3 separate regions of the Homo sapiens genome follow, and regions 2 and 3 are each linked to region 1. Evidence: promoter capture Hi-C in 16 types of primary human blood cells and fetal thymus (Javierre and others, 2016). All regions are on one chromosome and are shown on one strand. Each heading gives the region's core, a stretch centred on a gene start or on the middle of the fragment in contact. The rest is flanking DNA. Distances are from core to core; before and after follow the strand shown. Region 1 holds the start of NDN (necdin, MAGE family member). Region 2 has its middle 45 kb from the start of SNHG14. Region 3 overlaps SNHG14 (small nucleolar RNA host gene 14).

Region 1 (3,028 bases), core at 522-3,021:
CACAAATTTAGGAGTAATCATGAGTAGCGATTTTTCCCACCCTATTAGGGGAAATAGTTGTATCTGTATACACTGTAAAATAGAGAATTGTCTCATTCCCAACCATACTGCTTTGTTAAAATGATAAAGTACACTTTTCCAAAAATGATTGTATCACAAGAATCTTTAATGTTTACTTTAAAGTTGACTCACGGTGGGGTTGTATATGTGTTTAGTAAAGTGTGCCAAGTGCTCACACTGAGACCAGTCCAGTTCAAATTAGTGTACTCCACGAGGGTGTTTTCTGTGCCCAGCAAGGTCATGAAGGGCCTTGACTTTTCTTGGTTAGGCCGGCTTTGCTGGTGACTTCTTCCAAACTCTGCAGGAGCAGTCTACCCCAACACACATCATCAGTCCCATATAAAAGAATAAGATGGAAACTTTCTCAATGTATTTCATCAGTTTAGCACATCTCTGGTACAAAAATCCAAGAAAGGTAGCACAAAAGCGAAAGCACCAACCAAGCTTACATATAAACAAACATGCATACATCCTAAATACTACACAATAGTACCCAAATGAATACAACATTGCATTAAAGGTATAAAAGCACTGTACTGAAAACTTAAAAGTTACACGTGAATACTGCACTGTAAATCCTGAATACTATAATGACCCACCCCCACCCTTCCACAGCCCTGGTGAGGGTCAGAAACCATTCATCTGCCTCCAGACTTTGCTAGTCCTCAGAGACACTGCTGCGAGGGTAGTGGGCAGTGGGATTAGCCTCCCGCAGAGCTCTGGCCTCCTCCAGAGCTTCTCTGTATCGGGAGGGCCAGGCCTGGGGGTCTTTCTTAAAGACCCTGGCCAGGAACTCCATGATTTGCATCTTGGTGATTTCGCGGCTGGCCCGGGAGCCCCAAAAGAACTCGTATTCGGGCGGCTCCACGTATGGGACGCGCTGGTACTTCAGGTAATTCATTTGGACGAACTCCTCAGTGATGAGCTTCCGCACGTCCCCGAAGGTGGAGTGCTTCTTCCAGGGCCGCAGCCCCAGGATGCGCAGCACGTTCCAGACGGCGCTCTCTCTGGCGCCGCGGCCCTTCACGTAGATGAGGCTCAGGATCATGAGCAGGAGGCCTGTCATGGGCATGCGGTTGCTCAGCGCCACCCTGTCCAGCTCCTCGGGCTCCAGCGCTTTGACCAGCGCAAACTCCATGGTGTGCAGGCTGGTTAGCCTCAGGTGCAGCCCGAACACCCGGGCGAGGATGAGGCTGGTGCGCCGGAGGATGCTCCTGCACCACTTCTTGTAGCTGCCGATGACATCTTTCACCATGTCTGGAAACCAGATGATCATCTTCTTCTGGTCCTTGACCAGCACGTACCACATGAGCTCGTGCGCCTTCTGCACCAGCTGCGCCGGGGCTGGCGGTGCCGGGCCCGGCTGGGCCGCGCTCGGGGCCTGGTGGGCGCGGCCCTCCTCCGCAGCCTGCTGCAGGGCCTTCGGGTCGCCCTCGTCGTTCGGGGCCTGGGGAGGCGGCGCGGCCTGCGGAGCGGCCGTCGGGCCTAGAGGAGGGCTCTGCGGCTCTGCCAGGGTCGCGGACGGAGGAACCCCCTCCGAAACCCCAGGGCTGCTGTGCACCTCGGAGTTGGGGGCCTCGGCTGCAAAGTTAGGGTCGCTCAGATCCTTACTTTGTTCTGACATGTCTGCGCCGTCTGGCAAGGGCAGGGCCTCTGCGTCCAGGAGCTCTTCGAGCCTGCGCTCCCTCCGCGGATTCCTGGAGAGGAAGTGCGCGTTGCTGCGCGCGGCGCCTTCCGCAGCGACGGGCAGGGCGGGGCGGCGGCGGGACGCGGCACTGCGCCTGCGCGACCGCGGCCTTGGCCAGCGGCTGGGGGCGGGCGGGGCAGCGCGGGGCCCCGACGGGGAGGGTCCATGGCGAGGCTTCACCTGCTGGGAGAGCGATCCCGGGGTTTCCTGTTTGGGCTGAGAAGATCTAGGGCAGGAGAGAAGTGAGATGGATGCGTACTGGAGAAGGGGCCAGTTTAAGGGAAAGATACCTTAAGTTTTTGGGATGTTGGGGTCAAGTTTCTTGGGAAACGCTTACCTGGGTATATCCAGAATTAAGTTAAATATGAGAGTCCCAGAGAAAGGTCTGGGCGGCTTTGTAAACATGAGCTTTATGCGAACCAGTGAGAGGAACAGTCGGGCTTGTCCAAGAAAATGTGTAAACTGTAAAGTGGATGTCTGAGGTTGGAATCCTGAGAAATTCCAATAAAAAATGATCGACTCCCTACCAAATCAGATAGGCTATAAGAAAAGGGGAAATGCAGTGTGTCGTTAACGTAATTTCCTATCAACCCATGTGAACTATGAACTTTTTAAGTAGGCAGTGGACTTAGAGCATCATTAATGCTTTAACGGGCATAAATTTGGGTTTTACACTTCCTTTGGGTAACTTTGATTCCATTTTATTTTTTTCCATACTTAGTCCATAGCAGAAGGATTGCTATATCTTTTAGCACAAACTTGTATGATAATGTCTTTTCCCTCTGCCCAGCACCCTCATTCTTCAATTCACCTTCTCTCAGGACCCTCTCTGAAGCTACTGAGTCCTCCACGTTGGAAGCCACACCCAAGTCTTTCCTGAGATTTAAAAAAAAAATAGGTCCCATGGGTAATATCTGGTAGTGTCTCTGAGATGACCAAAGGGTAGCAGGGGAAACATAGGTAACCCTGTTTTCCAGGTATGGAAAACAGATTCCCAGTGGGCAAAGACAAAACTGTCACTCCTACAGGCTCTCCATGAAAAAAAGGGTCATTGCCTGAGCATCTGAAACCAGGGACCTTAATGCTGCTTCAGCATCCTTGGTCTGGGCTGATGTGGTCCTTCAGCTCTTCCCGGGTTTCTTCTCATCAGCAGCTTCTTAAATATGCTGTCTTGAATCTAGTTATTGCCACTCGAAGCCAAAAGCATATTTAAAAATTGTCTTGACATGTCTAGAGTCCTCACTGTGAGTATGTATCTTTTCCCACTTTATTTTTCCTCAA
Region 2 (3,030 bases), core at 356-2,855, 1.1 Mb after region 1:
TAGATCTTTCTTGCTTTTGAGGTCATTGACATCCCTCATGTGGGATTTCACTGATGTTTTTCTAATGTTTTGACTGGAGTTGTCAGTTTTAGGGAAGAAGATTACAGACAGAATATGCCATCTCATCACATCATATCAAGGGTACACACTATCAACATGCTTATTACTGTTGACATTAACTTGATAATTTCCATGAGATAATTTAGGTCAGGGATCACCATTTCTTCAAAGAATCTTAGTTCTTTATATTGTAAGGTAATTTTTGTTCCCCTTTCCATGTTGACCTTTTTAAAAAGAAGTCACTGTGCCCAGCACATATTTAAGAATTGGAAAAACATGCTCCACCTCCTGCTAGGCAGAGCTTCTACAATGCCATTTATGTTTCTTTACCATGGACAATTTCTCTATTCTGCTCCATGCATTATTTATATTCATCATTTAATATATCATATAAAATATATGAAATCACAAATATTTACTTCACACTATAATTACTAGTTTATTGATTTTGTTCCTCAAATTGTTTTAGAGTTTGCCATGTAAGGTCTTTCAGATGATTCCTATACCATTTTGATATATCTACGTTGTTGCAGTTTGATTTTGTTTTTTGTTTGTTTGTTTGTTTGTTTGACTGCTTTGTTGGTTGTGTTATTGTTTAGCATTTTATTACTTTCTGGCACTATAAAGTGTTCAAGCTTAATTGTTTTGATTCCCTACCCAAGCCTAATGTTCGTAATTTCTTCAAGGAGTTTTTATTTTTATTGGTGTCTAGTATTAGAAACAATGATCTGGGCAGTGGGTGCACTCATTGCTACTAGGTGATCTGTTGATTCTGGGCTTTGCCAGCTGACAGGAATATATCTGCATATTAACTCCACAAAAACACATATGTAAAAATATATCTACATTTGTCTATGTATATCTATATAAATTTAAACCTGTATTCCCACTAATGTCTCCAATTCTAATCCAGTACCACATGAATGAATCTACTTATTTTTACTACTTGCATATAACCTCTCATTCTAACAATGAGAAAACTGGCCCCCTTTATGAAAACGTTGAGTCCCAAAATATATGCAGACTGGTATCAGAGTTGGTCATTCATACTCCCATAGGAAAGGACTTTATAAATTAAAATGTGTAAGTATATTATTTTACCTGTGTTTCTCAATGGAATGGCCCCTTTCAATAATGTTTTAATTTGTATACATTTTTATTCACTCTTTGTGATATAAAGTTCTGTAGAATTTTACAAATAGTAGCATTAACTGACCATTTTCGTAGCATAGAGAAAAATTTCACTGCTGGAAAGAAATCTGTAATTTTCCTTTCCAACCTTCCTCTCACAAGTTCCTAGTAGCCTCTAATCATTTTAGTATAATTTCAACTTTCCGCAATGTCATATAAATTATATTGAACAGTACATAGTGATGCAAACTACCTTCATTTTCTTATAAATATGCCTTTAAGATTAGTGAAGCAGTGAAGTGTATCACACAATGAATTTGATCTGTGTTTTACTAAGGACTAAATTTGTTGAGCATTGTACATTTGTATAACTTCTTTGGGAAGATGTCTAGTCACACAAAAATTTTGCCCCTTATTTATTAGGATATTTTTCTTTTTATTTTTTAGTTGTAAGAGCATTTTACATATTGTGGCTAATAGACCCCTATCAAGTGTATGATTTGCAAACATTTTTTCCCATTGTTTGGGTTATCTCGATTGTGTACTTTGAATAATGAAAGTTTTAAGTTTTGATGATGTTCAATGTATGGGTTTTGTTTTTTTTTTTTTTTGCTTGTTACTTGTATTTTGATGAAATATCTTAGACTCTATTGTTTAACCTAAGGCTGTGAAGACTAATTCATACATTCACTTTCATAGATTTTGTCATTTTAACTCTTACATTTAGGCCTATGATCCACTTTAAGCCAATTGTTTATATGATGTGAGGGAGGAATCCAGCCTGCAAGTGGATATCCACTTCTGCCAGCAACGTTTATTGGAAGAAACATTTTTCCATATTGATATGCTTTCACAATCTTTAAAATCATTTAAACCATAAATATAAAGGTAATTTTGTGGACCCTCAGTTCTATCCAATAACACATATGGCTAAACTTATACCAGTACCACAATGTCTTGATTACTATCAGTTTGTAATAAGTTTTGAAGTCAAGAACTATGAGTCAAGTACTCCAACTGTATTCTTTTGGGTTAGTTTTGGCTATTCCGGAGCAATTGCATTTTCATATGAAATTTAGAAGTAGCTTGCCAATAACTGCATTTTTTAAAGAAGCAGTATTTTACTATGGATTGTATTAAATCCATAAATCCATTTGGGAAGTATTGTCATCATCACAGTATTAAGTTTTCTAATCATTGATCATGGGATTTTTATTTTTACATTTTTTAGGACATCTTCAGTATCTTTCAATACATTTTATAGTTTTCAATGTACATATTTTACACAGATTTCATTAAATTATTCCTAAGTATATCTCCACTTTGAAGCTTTTTACATAGGAACAGTTTTCTGACTTTCATTATTTTTTTTTTTGAGATGAAGTCTCACTCTTGTCACCCAGACTGGAGTGCAATGGTGTAATCTCGGCTCACTGCAACCTCCGTCTCCCAGGTTCAACTGATTCTACTGCCTCAGCCTCCCGAAGAGCTGGGATTATAGGCGCCTGCCACCATGCCCAGCTAAGTTTTGTATTTTTAGTAGAAACAAGGTTTCACCATATTGGCCAGGCTGGTGCCGAACTCCAGACCTCAAACAATCTGCCCGAATTAGCCTCCCAAAGTGCTGTGATTACAGGTGTGGGCCACCCCGACCAGCCTCTGACTTTCATTTTTAGATTAATTGCTAGTATATAGAAACAGAATTGCTGGTCATCGCTCACTCCAGGCTCCTGCTCTCAGGCTCAAGTGATTCCCCTGCCTCAGCCTCCTGAGTAGGTGGGGCTACAGGTGCATGCCACTAAGCGTAGCTAATTTTTTGAATTTTTTTGTAGAGACAAG
Region 3 (3,111 bases), core at 45-2,544, 1.2 Mb after region 1:
TGTGGAGTAGGCCACGGAAAAGTACATGCACAGTTGATGAAAAGACATGTATTTAAATGTTTATAGCAGCATTATTTGTAATAGCCAAAACTGGAAATAAAGCAGAGTGGGTAAGTAAATGGTGGTATAGGAATTCAATGGAATTCAACTATAAATAAAAAATAATGAACTGTATCTACATGTAAAAACCTTGATGAATTTTATAAACACAAAGTTGAGCAAAATAATCTAGGCAAAAACATACTTGTCTGAGCCCATCTCTGTAACATTCAGAAGTCAGTATGACAAGTCAGGATGGTGGTTACCTGTGACAGGAGAGAGGCTGTTTTGGGAAGGGCTCACTTGGGTCTTCTCAGTTGCTGGAGTTCACTGTGATAAATTTAGGATTTGTTTCTTTTTAGTGCCGTGTATGTGTGTGTGTGTGTGTGTGTGTGTGTGTGTGTATATAAACATTTTTTTTTTTTTTTTTTTTTTTTTGAGATGGAGTCTCACTCTGTCACCCAGGCTGGATGCCTGGCTTTTTGTAGTTTAGTAGAAATGAGGTTTCAGCATGTAGCTCTGGCTGATCTCAAGCTCCTGAACTCAGGAGTCTTTCCTCCTGTACAGGAGGGAAGACCTTTCCTCTACTTTCTGAGAATTCAATAATTGAGTCCTTGAAAGAAATTGACAGTAGTCAGATTAATGGGAGAAAAGGTATACAAATTAGATATGGACACAGGGACATCACATGAAAGAAAAGCGAATATCCCAGAACCCAGTGAGATTCAGAAGCTTATGTACCCTCTTCTTAGGACAGAGGGTATAGGTGATTAGGTAACTTAGGGGAGAGTAAACAGTTTGGGGGAAAGATAAATGGACTGTCAGAAGAACAGGTAACAGCCGGTGACAAAGTCTGCGTGTGTTATCAAGGTCTACTCTCCTCTCCTGTGATAGGAGCCAATCTTCCCTGGTTAGTGAGTTTCCTGGGGAGGGGATTCATGACAATTAAGTTCCTTTTAGATAATCTGTCTTTAGATAAGGAAGCTCAGAGAAAACCTCTGCCTGTATGAGCTGCTCCCCACATAACCTCAGTTGAAAGTAATCAGCACACCAAAGCATCATATTTTGGGGTGGAGATCCTCCCGCCTCAGTCTCTCAAGTAGCTAGGACCAGAGGCATGCACCATCATGCCCGGCTACTTTTTTTTTTTTTATTTCTTGCAGAGACAGAGTCTCACCATGTTGCCTAGGCTGGTCTCCAATTCCTGACCTCAAGTGATCCTCCTATCTCTGTCTCCCAAACAGCTGGGATTACAGGCATGAGTTACCATGCCCAGGCTAGGGGTGGCATTTCCTGAACTCCTTCAGCCCTCTTGGGAAATGTGCAGGCAGGAAGAAAGAAAAGAATACCCTTGTCCACAGCCAGGTCTTGTTGAGCTTATGCTTGGCAGAATAGAACCTTACACCCAGCCACGTGAAAACTGGGATGATAAATGTCTGCATGTCTGACAGAAGGTTTGGCCTCTGATTCAGCTGTGGTGATTTTTCCATCTACTTAACTCCAAATTCTATTAGCTAGTATAAACTCTCTATTGGACTATGAACACAGTAAGTACACAATCATATGATTATTTTATCTATTGACTTAAATAGAATTGTGTATGAAGGCTGTACTGAAGTTATTCAGGGTTGAGTCAGGAAAAGCTAAATTTCAACCTCTTTTAAGAAAAATATTGATGCCTCCAAATCCATAGTATATATGTTGCTTACTAGCTTATAAAGGGCCCCTGGAAGAAAGGACATTTCCGGTGTTTTATGTCAATCATAGGAAAATAAGCTATAAGCTTTTTTTTAATTCTTTGATTCTCAAAAGTAGGATTGTGGCCAGGCATGGTGGCTCACACTTGTACAGCACTTTGGGAGGCTGAGATGGGAAGATCGCTCAAGGCCAGGAGTTCGAGACCAGCCTGGGTAACAAAGCAAGACCCCATCTCTACAAAAAGAAAAATGTATGATTGCGTCCCCCTACCACTCCCCAACACTTCCCTGGCTCCACACCCCAGTTCCTCTGCTCTCATTTCTGCTGTGTCTTACTCCATGAAGCTTTCAAAACTGCTTTTATAGAGTCCTCCTTTTCTTTTTTATAAATTTATTATTGTTGTTGTTTAATTAAAAGACAGGATCTCACTCTGTTGTGCAGTTGTGCGATCACTACAGCCTCAATCTCCAAGCGATCCTCCCATCTCAGCCTCCCCAGTGGCTGGGACCATAGGTGCATACCACCATGCCCAGCTAATTTTTTTTTTTTTTGAGACAGAGTCTCGCACTCTTGCCCAGGCTGGAGTGCAGTGGCGCGATCTCGGCTCACTGCAAGCTCTGCCTCCCAGGTTCACGCCATTCTCTGGCCTCAGCCTCCCGAGTAGCGGTAGCGCCCGCAACCACACCCGGCTAATTTTTTGAATTTTTAGTAGAAATGGAGTTTCACTGTGTTAGGCAGGATGGTCTCGATCTCCTGACCTTGTGATCCGCCCGCCTCGGCCTCCCAAAGTGCTGGGATTACAGGCCTGAGCCACCGTGCCCGGCCCACTAATTTTTAAATCTTTTTGTAGAGATGGGATCTAACTATGTTAACCAATCTAGTTTCAAACTCCTGGCATCAAGCAGTCCTTCTGTCCAAAGTGCTGAGATTGCAGGCATGAGCCACTGTGCCAGGCCCCTCATTCTTTAAATAGCTACTTTAGATTCTATTGTAAGGATATTTTAATAATTTTCCAACTTTTATTATATTGAGTAGGTGATTCCTTTTTAAATTATATATGTAAATTTTTATTTATATATTTGAATAATATGTTTACATAGTTAAAAATCAAAATATACGAAAGGCATACAGTAAGAAGTCATCTCTTTCCACCCGTAATGACAATATATCCCCTTTTGCCTGGCACAGATGCACACATAAATTATTGTCCTGACATGATTATGAATAATCCTGCTTTCTCTCAGAAGTGTGCTAGTTTGAATGATAAATTATGCAGACATTCTGCTTGTATCCCTGCTTCTTCACCATGCTGTTATATTCCTTCCAATTCAGAGGCAAATGTGATATCATTGCCTATGTGTCTTCCAGAGGAAT

What was found. Contacts are between HindIII fragments. The CHiCAGO score rates a contact against its expected background, and 5 or more counts as called.
Region 2: a fragment that was not itself captured here is called in contact with the fragment with the promoter of NDN in region 1 in 1 of 17 cell types (M0 macrophages); the score reaches 5.7 in M0 macrophages.
Region 3: a fragment that was not itself captured here is called in contact with the fragment with the promoter of NDN in region 1 in 1 of 17 cell types (erythroblasts); the score reaches 5.4 in erythroblasts.

Annotation. Positions count from the first base shown.
Region 1 is chr15:23,685,534-23,688,561 of GRCh38, forward strand. It overlaps NDN (necdin, MAGE family member), which reads right to left and starts at 1,772. Exons shown (of 1, transcript NM_002487.3): 1 at 1-1,772. The coding sequence starts at 1,684. The coding sequence ends at 719. The HindIII fragment of the contact is 2,633 bases long and covers 503-3,028 here.
Region 2 is chr15:24,777,422-24,780,451 of GRCh38, forward strand. No RefSeq gene overlaps it. Among named protein-coding and RNA genes, the nearest start is that of SNHG14, 45 kb to the right of the region's middle. The HindIII fragment of the contact is 1,825 bases long and covers 694-2,518 here.
Region 3 is chr15:24,923,472-24,926,582 of GRCh38, forward strand. All of the region lies in intron 4 of SNHG14 (small nucleolar RNA host gene 14), which reads left to right. It also overlaps a transcript of SNRPN not described here. Among named protein-coding and RNA genes, the nearest start is that of SNRPN, 30 kb to the right of the region's middle. The HindIII fragment of the contact is 1,051 bases long and covers 770-1,820 here.